Regions from separate parts of the Homo sapiens genome. Here all the other regions are linked to region 3. Evidence: promoter capture Hi-C in 16 types of primary human blood cells and fetal thymus (Javierre and others, 2016). All regions are on one chromosome and are shown on one strand. Each heading gives the region's core, a stretch centred on a gene start or on the middle of the fragment in contact. The rest is flanking DNA. Distances are from core to core; before and after follow the strand shown. Region 1 overlaps ULK2 (unc-51 like autophagy activating kinase 2). Region 2 has its middle 14 kb from the start of SLC47A2. Region 3 holds the start of MAPK7 (mitogen-activated protein kinase 7).

Evidence for each region. Contacts are between HindIII fragments. The CHiCAGO score rates a contact against its expected background, and 5 or more counts as called.
Region 1: a fragment that was not itself captured here is called in contact with the fragment with the promoter of MAPK7 in region 3 in 1 of 17 cell types (naive B cells); the score reaches 5.7 in naive B cells.
Region 2: a fragment that was not itself captured here is called in contact with the fragment with the promoter of MAPK7 in region 3 in 2 of 17 cell types (M1 macrophages and M2 macrophages); the score reaches 5.7 in M1 macrophages.

Annotation. Positions count from the first base shown.
Region 1 is chr17:19,799,248-19,802,054 of GRCh38, forward strand. ULK2 (unc-51 like autophagy activating kinase 2) reads right to left here. Exons shown (of 27, transcript NM_014683.4): 16 at 2,530-2,675; 17 at 248-328. Among named protein-coding and RNA genes, the nearest start is that of ALDH3A1, 52 kb to the left of the region's middle. The HindIII fragment of the contact is 3,751 bases long and covers 1-2,807 here.
Region 2 is chr17:19,729,584-19,732,283 of GRCh38, forward strand. No RefSeq gene overlaps it. Among named protein-coding and RNA genes, the nearest start is that of SLC47A2, 14 kb to the left of the region's middle. The HindIII fragment of the contact is 5,355 bases long and covers 1-2,700 here.
Region 3 is chr17:19,377,230-19,379,929 of GRCh38, forward strand. It overlaps MAPK7 (mitogen-activated protein kinase 7), which reads left to right and starts at 1,269. Exons shown (of 7, transcript NM_002749.4): 1 at 1,269-1,401; 2 at 1,667-1,903; 3 at 2,553-2,700. The coding sequence starts at 1,672. It also overlaps a transcript of B9D1 not described here. RefSeq lists silencers at 345-394, 1,105-1,164, 1,235-1,494 and an enhancer at 665-894. The HindIII fragment of the contact is 26,192 bases long and covers 1-2,700 here.

The DNA of each region.
Region 1 (2,807 bases), core at 44-2,543, 420 kb after region 3:
ATAACCAAAACTTAGCCAAGTTATTTAATTTCTAAGACTTATTTTCATTAAGGAATCTCATATCCAAAAGGAGGTAGTAGATTAGCTTTATGACATATTAAACCACATTAGACCAAGATTCTAAAAATCAGGATGGCAGAGGAGATATTTCATATCAATTCTGTTCTTTGATAAAACTAGAAAAACACAACTCAAATCCATTTATAATACAATTCAAATTATTAATAAACCAAATACATTATCCTACCTGAGGAGTTTCTACTCCTGGAGTCATGGCCCTGAGGATGCCCACAGCAGCACTGACTGAATTGCTCAGGAATGGTACCAACTACAAAAAAAAAAAAAAAAAAGATGGGGAAAGGAAGAAAAATGATCAAAAACCAATAAAAGATGGCAACAGGCAACACATGCACAAATTGCACAGTAAACTACTGGTTAGAAAATTTTAAGTAACAAACGTTTAGTTCAACTAACATTTACTGGACAACCAATCCGCTGGGTGCTGCACACTAAGATAAAAAGTATCATATAATCTGCCTTGAAATAAGAACATTAGGGGAAGAAAAACCACATAAACAAATAAATGCTCCTAACAGGTATGTCCATAAGACAGGTAAGCACAAAGAGTTTGTACAAAGTGTCCGGGCTTGTGGAGCTGCAGGGCACAGCTAACAGAGAGCCCCAGCTGCAGTCCCTCTGGTGCCAAGGCTAGGCTTCCCCCAGGGCTGTTCCCAGCCAATGACTGCATATGGTGGGACACTAATTCAGGCTTGTTGAAGCGGGTCAGGGAATTCCTCTAACAAGACAATCCAGTGCTTGGGGCTACTTCTTCAGTCTGGCTGAAACCTTCTCAGACCTACACCACAGTCTGAGACTCTTCCTGGCCAGCTCTTCCTCCTTCCTGCCCTCCTTTTCCAGGTGTTGGACCTATGTCTTGGTCTGAGGGCCCTCCCTGCTTCCTCCTGCTCCTCCCCTTCATTCTTCACAGAAGTTTCCCCAAGTCACTCTCTTGTATATCTAATATGTTCTATGCATCCATTTCTCTGAGAATTAAAACTAACACAGAGAGAGAGAGTTAGGGAAGGCTTCAGGCAGTTTAAGCAGATGAGAAACATGTCTATATCAAGAGGGCTCATTCCAAGGGATTAAGCAGCGGGCAGAGATCAGATCCTTAGGGAAGGGCTTTATCCTTGTGTGCAAGGATGAGATTTGGACCTTATCTTTGGAGACCTTGAAGTACCTCAGGGGCTGCTACAGGGGTGAGAAAGGGCCAAAATTTTATTTAAAGATTTTTCATCTAAAAACAGCTTTGAAACCATTGCAACAGGTAATGTGGCAATTTAAACTTCTTTCTTTTTCTTAACACTGTCATTGTGTGTTTTGTCTTGTTTTAAACAGGGCTCCTGAGGAAAGCCCTTCTCTTTGTCTCTGGAGACTTCTTCCTGTTCCATCTTAGTGTTACTTCAGCAGTTCTGACTGAAGGTGGGGCCCTCTCCTGGAAGTATTTTTTTTACAGTTTTGAGATTTGCCACCCCCAGGCCCTGCGTGCACCACCTGTTCTTCCCACCACCTCAGTGCTGCCTCTCATACAGCTGCTGTAGTCTCAATGGCTTTGGCTCTCTCACACATATTTCTGCAGTTTGAGCTTTTATTTCTGTCCCTTGGTTTCACTGAAGATATGGTACATGGTTTGTTTTTCCTTTTGGTAGGGTTTTTGTTGTTTCTGGTGTTTTGTTTGTATTGGCATTCTCCTTATTACGGTACCAGGAGAAGTGGGAAGATCTGTAACAAAGCTGCCACCACATGCCTACCAGAACTGGAAGGTTTCTGGTAATTGTGACCCAGAGCTGCTATACAGTAATCCTTATAAGTATGAGTGATAAGTAGAAAAGGCATTTTATGCACTTCAACCTAGGGTTTCTGACTTTGCATTTAGAGCCCAATCCCAAAGGAGATGCTTTTTATACATAAATTACATTTATATTATTGTATTTCCAGTAGAGATCCTAACAAATTTATACAGAGATTCTCAAAAAGAAGTTGGGGCCGGGCGCGGTGGCTCACACCTATAATCCCAGCACTTTGGAAGGCCAAGGCGAGTGGATGCTTGAGCCCAGGTGCTCGAGACCAGCCTGGGTAACATAGTGAAACTTTGTCTCCGTAAAAATAAAAAAGTAAAAAAAATTAGCTGGGTGTGGTGGCATGCGCCTGTAGTTCCAGCTACTTGGGAGACTGAGGTGAAAAGATCCTTTGAACCTGGGAAGCAGAGGCTGCAGTGAGCCGAGATCATGCCCCCTGCACTCCAGCCTGGGCGACAGAGTGAGACCTTGTCTCAAATAGAGAAAGAAAAGGAAAAAGAAAAGAAAAGAGGGAGTTGGGATTGGGGTAAAGATGGAGGGACGGGGTATGGCCTCCAATCAGCTGAGAATCACTGCCATCATGAGCCGAAGTTCCTAAAGAAAATGTGTCATGTCAGATTTATTACAGTGAAAAAAAGGTTGAAAACAACTGTTTTTAAACTCTACTTACCCAAAGGGGAAGGTGAGTAAGGCCTAGAAGACCCAGTGGAGAGCCTTCGTCCAACTGTCTGTGCTGTGTCTGCTGGTACTGGGGAGCATGATCCCGGCCGGAGGAAGCCCATGGGGCTGGTGTTGGACCTTCGTACCACTGCAGATCTGAAAAGTAAATTATTCCTTCTATAAAAGGTTCTAGAACTCTCTTTTTATTCCTGCATTTTCTGAAACTTCCTAACAATATGCCACGGAGTAGTTTTCAAAAATATGTAATACAGTCACATGGAACAATTA
Region 2 (2,700 bases), core at 187-2,686, 350 kb after region 3:
ACCTCAAGTGATCCGCCCGCCTCAGCCTCCCAAAGTGCTGGCATTACAGGCGTGAGCCACCGCTCCCGGCCGACAGGGAGTTCTTGACTTTCACAGTTGCAGGGTGGCCTCAGGTGGGTGGTGTGTGTGCGCAGGGATCTGCACAAAGACTGGCGTTGCGCGGGTGTCTACAGTCTGGAGGCCCTGCTGACGCCCTGCAGTCCTGGGGAGGAAGAGACTTGGAGGGAGGAGGTGCTGGGAGGTCTAAGCAGAAGTCTCAGGAGAACAAGCCCGCCCTGTTCAGGAGACACTGGAACAAGGAGTACACCAAGCGGTAAGAGGAGGAGAGATAAGAGGCTCTCAGATGTAAGTAATGGGAAATGCTTCAAAATGGCAAAATGGCTTGAGGAAAAGAAAATTTGTTAAAGGGAAGGCAGCTCCAGCAGCTCATTCACATCCCAGAGCAGCCCAGGGGCATCATCTCCCTACTAAGCCGGTCTCAGCCCGCCGGCCTCGCCTCAGGGCTGTCCTCATGGCCACAAGATGGCTGTGCATTCCAAGTTCACAACCAGACATGCCACTCTCTGGCGGGAGAGGGGTCGCCCTTTCTTGTGCATCTGTTTTTATTGGTGCTATGATCTGAATGTTTGTGTCCCCCTAAGCATTCAGGTGTTGAAATCCTTGTCCCCAGTGTGATGGTATTAGGAGTTTGGGGCCTTTGGGAGGTGATTAGTGCCCTTACAAAAAAGGCCTGAGGGGCCGGGCAGGTGCCTGTAATCACAGCACTCTGAGAGGCTGAGGCGGGCAGATCACTTGATGTCGGGAGTTTGAGACCAGCCTGGCCAACATGGTGAAACACCATCTCTACTAAAAATACTCTACTAAAAATTAGCTGGGCGTGGTGGTGCACGCCTGTAATCCCAGCACTTTGGGAGGCCAAGGTGAGTGGATCACTTGAGGCCAAGAGTTCGAGACCAGCCTGACCAACATGGTGAAACCCCATCTCTACTAAAAATACAAAAATTAGCTGGGCGTGGTGGTACACACCTGTAATTCCAGCTACTCGGGAGGCTGAGGCAGGAGAATCACTTGAACCCGGGAGGTGAAGTTTGCAGTGAGCCAAGATTGTGCCACTGCACTCCAGCCTGGGTGACAGAGTGAGACTCTGTCTAAAACAAAAAACAAAAAACAAACAAATAACATATAACCCAGATATAGTGATGCCCTGGCTCTAGCCTAGAACATAGGATGAAAATCTCAGGATCCTAAGCATCATCATTTTTAAAGAAATTTTCAAAATTGAATTCTGTTAACAATGAGGGAGGAGGAACAGATTTGCACAGGCAACAGCAGTGTTTGCCACGCTTGCTCAGTCCAGGCAGTCAGTCCAGCCACTCAAGGTGACTCCAGAGAAATTTTGGGAAAGAAGGGGACTCAGAGAAGGAGCCACCCTGCTGTCCCCTGGGCAGGGCTGGCCCACAGCAGAGGCGGAGCTGAGTCCAAGCCTGGCACCAGTCCTCCCTGCAGCCTTCTGGAGTGTGAGCTGGTGAAGTTCCTTTTTTAAACTTTTTGAATCTTAGTTTGCTGCTATTTCAACATCATCCTGACAGATTGGGATCCGGGAAATGTCACCCGCTCAGCCTTGAGTACCCCAAAGTGGGATGAGCAGAGAGGTGGCCAAGGAGTAGAGGGGAGTCCCGGCAGAGCAGTGAGGGCTCTGGAGCCGGGGGCCCCACATTCAAGGCAGATGGTGTGGGAACTGCCTGGATGGCAGCAGTTGGGGGAGAGGGGACAAGAGTCATTGCAGGTCAGGGTTGGAGCTCAGGGGCCCGTGCCCTACCTTTCCCTCAGGCAAGTCCTCAACCAATGGTCTCTAAACACCAGCACACCCCTCATGACCTGCATGGCGTGGCCTGGCTTTGTAGGGTAGTTCTCATGTCACTTTATTCCTGTGTTTATTGTCTTTCTCTGTCCATGCAGCAGGGACATTTGCTGCTCAACAAATAACGACTGCTCCTCCACAGTTCCCAGAACCCTTTCAGCTCTGGGCTGTGGTCCTGGCCAGTGGGCTATGAGTGGAGGTGATCTGGGGTGGCCTCTCCAGTTCTCCCTTCCCTGCTTTGGTGAACCCCTAGCCCTGCACTGAGATGGTGAAGGCTCTGTCAGCTCCTCTCTGGTTGACCTTGTGGAGCAGAGCTCCCCCAACCTCCTCTGTAGCCGCCGCCATTCTGAGGTTAACTTGTTCCTGCCGCATAACCCTGCAGGTCCTGCCGAAGACGCTCCCATCAAGGTGAGCTCCTCGAGCGCAGTCCCCGCCACGACTGCCTGCTGGAGGAACCCATAGGTGGGCGCAATCTTCCCTTCTGCTCTAGAACATCAGGAGACAGAGGGCATCAGCAATGCAACAGAGACGGAAGCCTTTTATGGCTTGAGACTTTGCCTTTTAGTTTCCTGTTTGGGAGAGACTCTACATTTTCTTTTGTTTTGCTTTGTTTTTTTGTTTGTTTGTTTTGAGACAGAGTCTCACTCTGTCACCCAGGCTGGAGTGTAGAGATGCTACCTTGGCTCACTGCAACATCTACCTCCTAGGTTCAAGCGATTCTCCTGCCTCAGCCTCCAGAGTAGCTGGATTACAGGCACCTGCCACCACACCCAGCTAATTTTTGTATTTTAGTAGAGAAGGGGTTTCACCATGTTGGTTAGGCTGGTCTCAAACTCCTG
Region 3 (2,700 bases), core at 19-2,518:
CTTGGTTCACATAGGTTTCTTTTAGGGGCGATGAAAATGTTCCATAAACCACTCTACCTAAAATTAGGTAGTGATGATGGCTGCTCAACTGTGAATATACCAAAAAACACTGAATTGTACACTATAAAAGGATGAGTTTTATGGTATGTTATTAAAAGTTGTTTAAAAGTGAGGGACCCCTCCAGTTATTGATATGGAATGATCTTCAGGAAAAGAGCATAATATGCTACATTTTTGTACACCAAAGGGGAGGTAGGTACGAATATGCATACATATTGCTTTTTTCTAGAAGCCGCCTAGGAGTGAAACCAAAATTCTTCACTTCTTTTCGGCCCTACCTCGAGCTCCCTTTAGAAAACCTTTCCTTCCAGCTCACAGTATCCACCATGTCCACCTTCGCCTCCCGGCACTGAGCCTTAGAGGGGCGGTGCTCCATAAACATTTGCTACATGAATGAACGAATAAACTATCGGATTTTGGGGTGGGTCGGGACAGCTCGGTTCCAGCGAGGGCTCCGCCCACCCGCGGGCTCCGCAGAGGAGCAGAGGTTGGGCGGCCGCCTCGGTTAACTCCGCTGCAGCCCAAAGCACGGGAATCGCGGGACAGACAAACGAGCGGAGGGAAGATACCTAGAAGCCAGGAAACCGCGAGCTGCAGTCCAACTTGGCCGGAAGCTGCGGAGAGGCTCAGCCACCGGAAGTCAGTGGAGGGTTCGGCCGGACGCTCTAGAATCCCGGAGGACCGGGATCTCTGTGGTTGGCCGTGACGGGCACCCTCTACCGGGGATGACACATTCCCAGAGCTCCTGGGACCAAGCAAATGGCGGACACAATTCCCTGGGCGGAAGGGGACTTCGGGAGCCAGTAGCCAAGGTAACAGTCCCAGACCTGGGCATCTCAGGCCGGGCAGTTCCCCGAGCTCACGGGACTAGCTGTGATTGGCCGGATGAGGTTGAGAGCTTCATGGGGACGCGCGCGCTACGTGCAGGGGCGTTGCCTTCCATTCACTTGGCGCCCGACTGCCAGTGCGCATGCGTTTGAAGGCGGTGCAGGGCGGGGAGCACACCCCTGCGAAGTGCCGGGCACCCTTTGGGCGGCTCCCGCCGGCGAGCTGGACAGCGGCGCGCGCCAGGCGTGGCTTTCTCGGCCGGTGGGCTAGGATTGGACGCAGTAGGTAGAAGGGGCAGGACCCTCCGCAGCAGTAGCTCAGCGATTGGCCAGGAGCTGGAGGGAGCGTGGCCTTGGGAGGCGGGGCGGAGGGGGACGGACAGGGCAGCTCAAGACGCTGAGGTGGTGGCTGCGGCCTTTGAACAAGTAAGTGAGCCACCCTCGGAGACCCCCGCGCTGGGGACGGGAGGCCGGCGAGCCTCGGGACCTCTGAAAGCCTTGAGGAGGCGCGGGGGTGAGTGCGGCCCTGAGGAAACCCAGGTGCCCCGCCCCTCCCTTTCTTCCTGGCCCGCGCCTCGCCTACCCCTCCCCCGACCCTGGCGGGCCCCCGGCTCTGGGCCCGGACCCCTGGGGTAGCTAGTCTGCCACGAACCAGCCGCGCGCTTCTGCCCTTGTCGGTTTAGGAAACTGGGAAGTTCCCTGGTCCTGCTCCCCAGCCCGCAGAGGGGACACTGAGGCCCACGGTAGGTGGTCCTCTCCTCACCCGAGTCTCCACACAGACACCATGGCCGAGCCTCTGAAGGAGGAAGACGGCGAGGACGGCTCTGCGGAGCCCCCCGGGCCCGTGAAGGCCGAACCCGCCCACACCGCTGCCTCTGTAGCGGCCAAGAACCTGGCCCTGCTTAAAGCCCGCTCCTTCGATGTGACCTTTGACGTGGGCGACGAGTACGAGATCATCGAGACCATAGGCAACGGGGCCTATGGAGTGGTGTCCTCCGCCCGCCGCCGCCTCACCGGTGAGCTTCCTGAGCCGTCGCCTCCCAGATGTGGCAGCGTCGCAGGGAGTGGGAAACCGGCCTGTCCCAGACAGCCGGGAAGGAAAGCGGGGTGCGAGTTCTGGCTCCAGTCAACACACACTGACCAGGGCCTTCTGCCTGCCAGGCTCCGGGGAGGCTCGGTTCTCTGAAACTCCGGCCTGGTGGTTTTGCCATCCTGCCTGCCTACTTCCTCCTTAGGAAAATGATAGTCCCAGTTAGACCAGAATGGAGAGCCAGTCCTTCGTGTCTAAGAGAGAAATGTGTTCTGGAGCCAGACACTGGCATAAGGAACTGGTGGTGGGATGGGTGAGGTCTGAGATGGAGAGGGTGTAGGCATAAGAGGCTGAGCTACACCACTGGGCATCCGTGCAACCTCCAACAAGTTACTAAGCCATATTTCCTTCTCTTTAACGTTGACCTATTGGGACCTGCCCCGCAGGGGAGTTGTGAAGGTAACATTTAATAATGTAGGTAACATGCTTAGCACAGGGCTTGGCACATAGTAGGTACCCAATACTTGGTAGCTGTTGTCATTTGCATCCTAGAAGGGAGGTGTTGATAGGGGCTGAGTCGACTCTGCAGTTTCTCCAAGGTATCCTCTGGTATGTCCCTTTTCCCTGCTCCTCAGGCCAGCAGGTGGCCATCAAGAAGATCCCTAATGCTTTCGATGTGGTGACCAATGCCAAGCGGACCCTCAGGGAGCTGAAGATCCTCAAGCACTTTAAACACGACAACATCATCGCCATCAAGGACATCCTGAGGCCCACCGTGCCCTA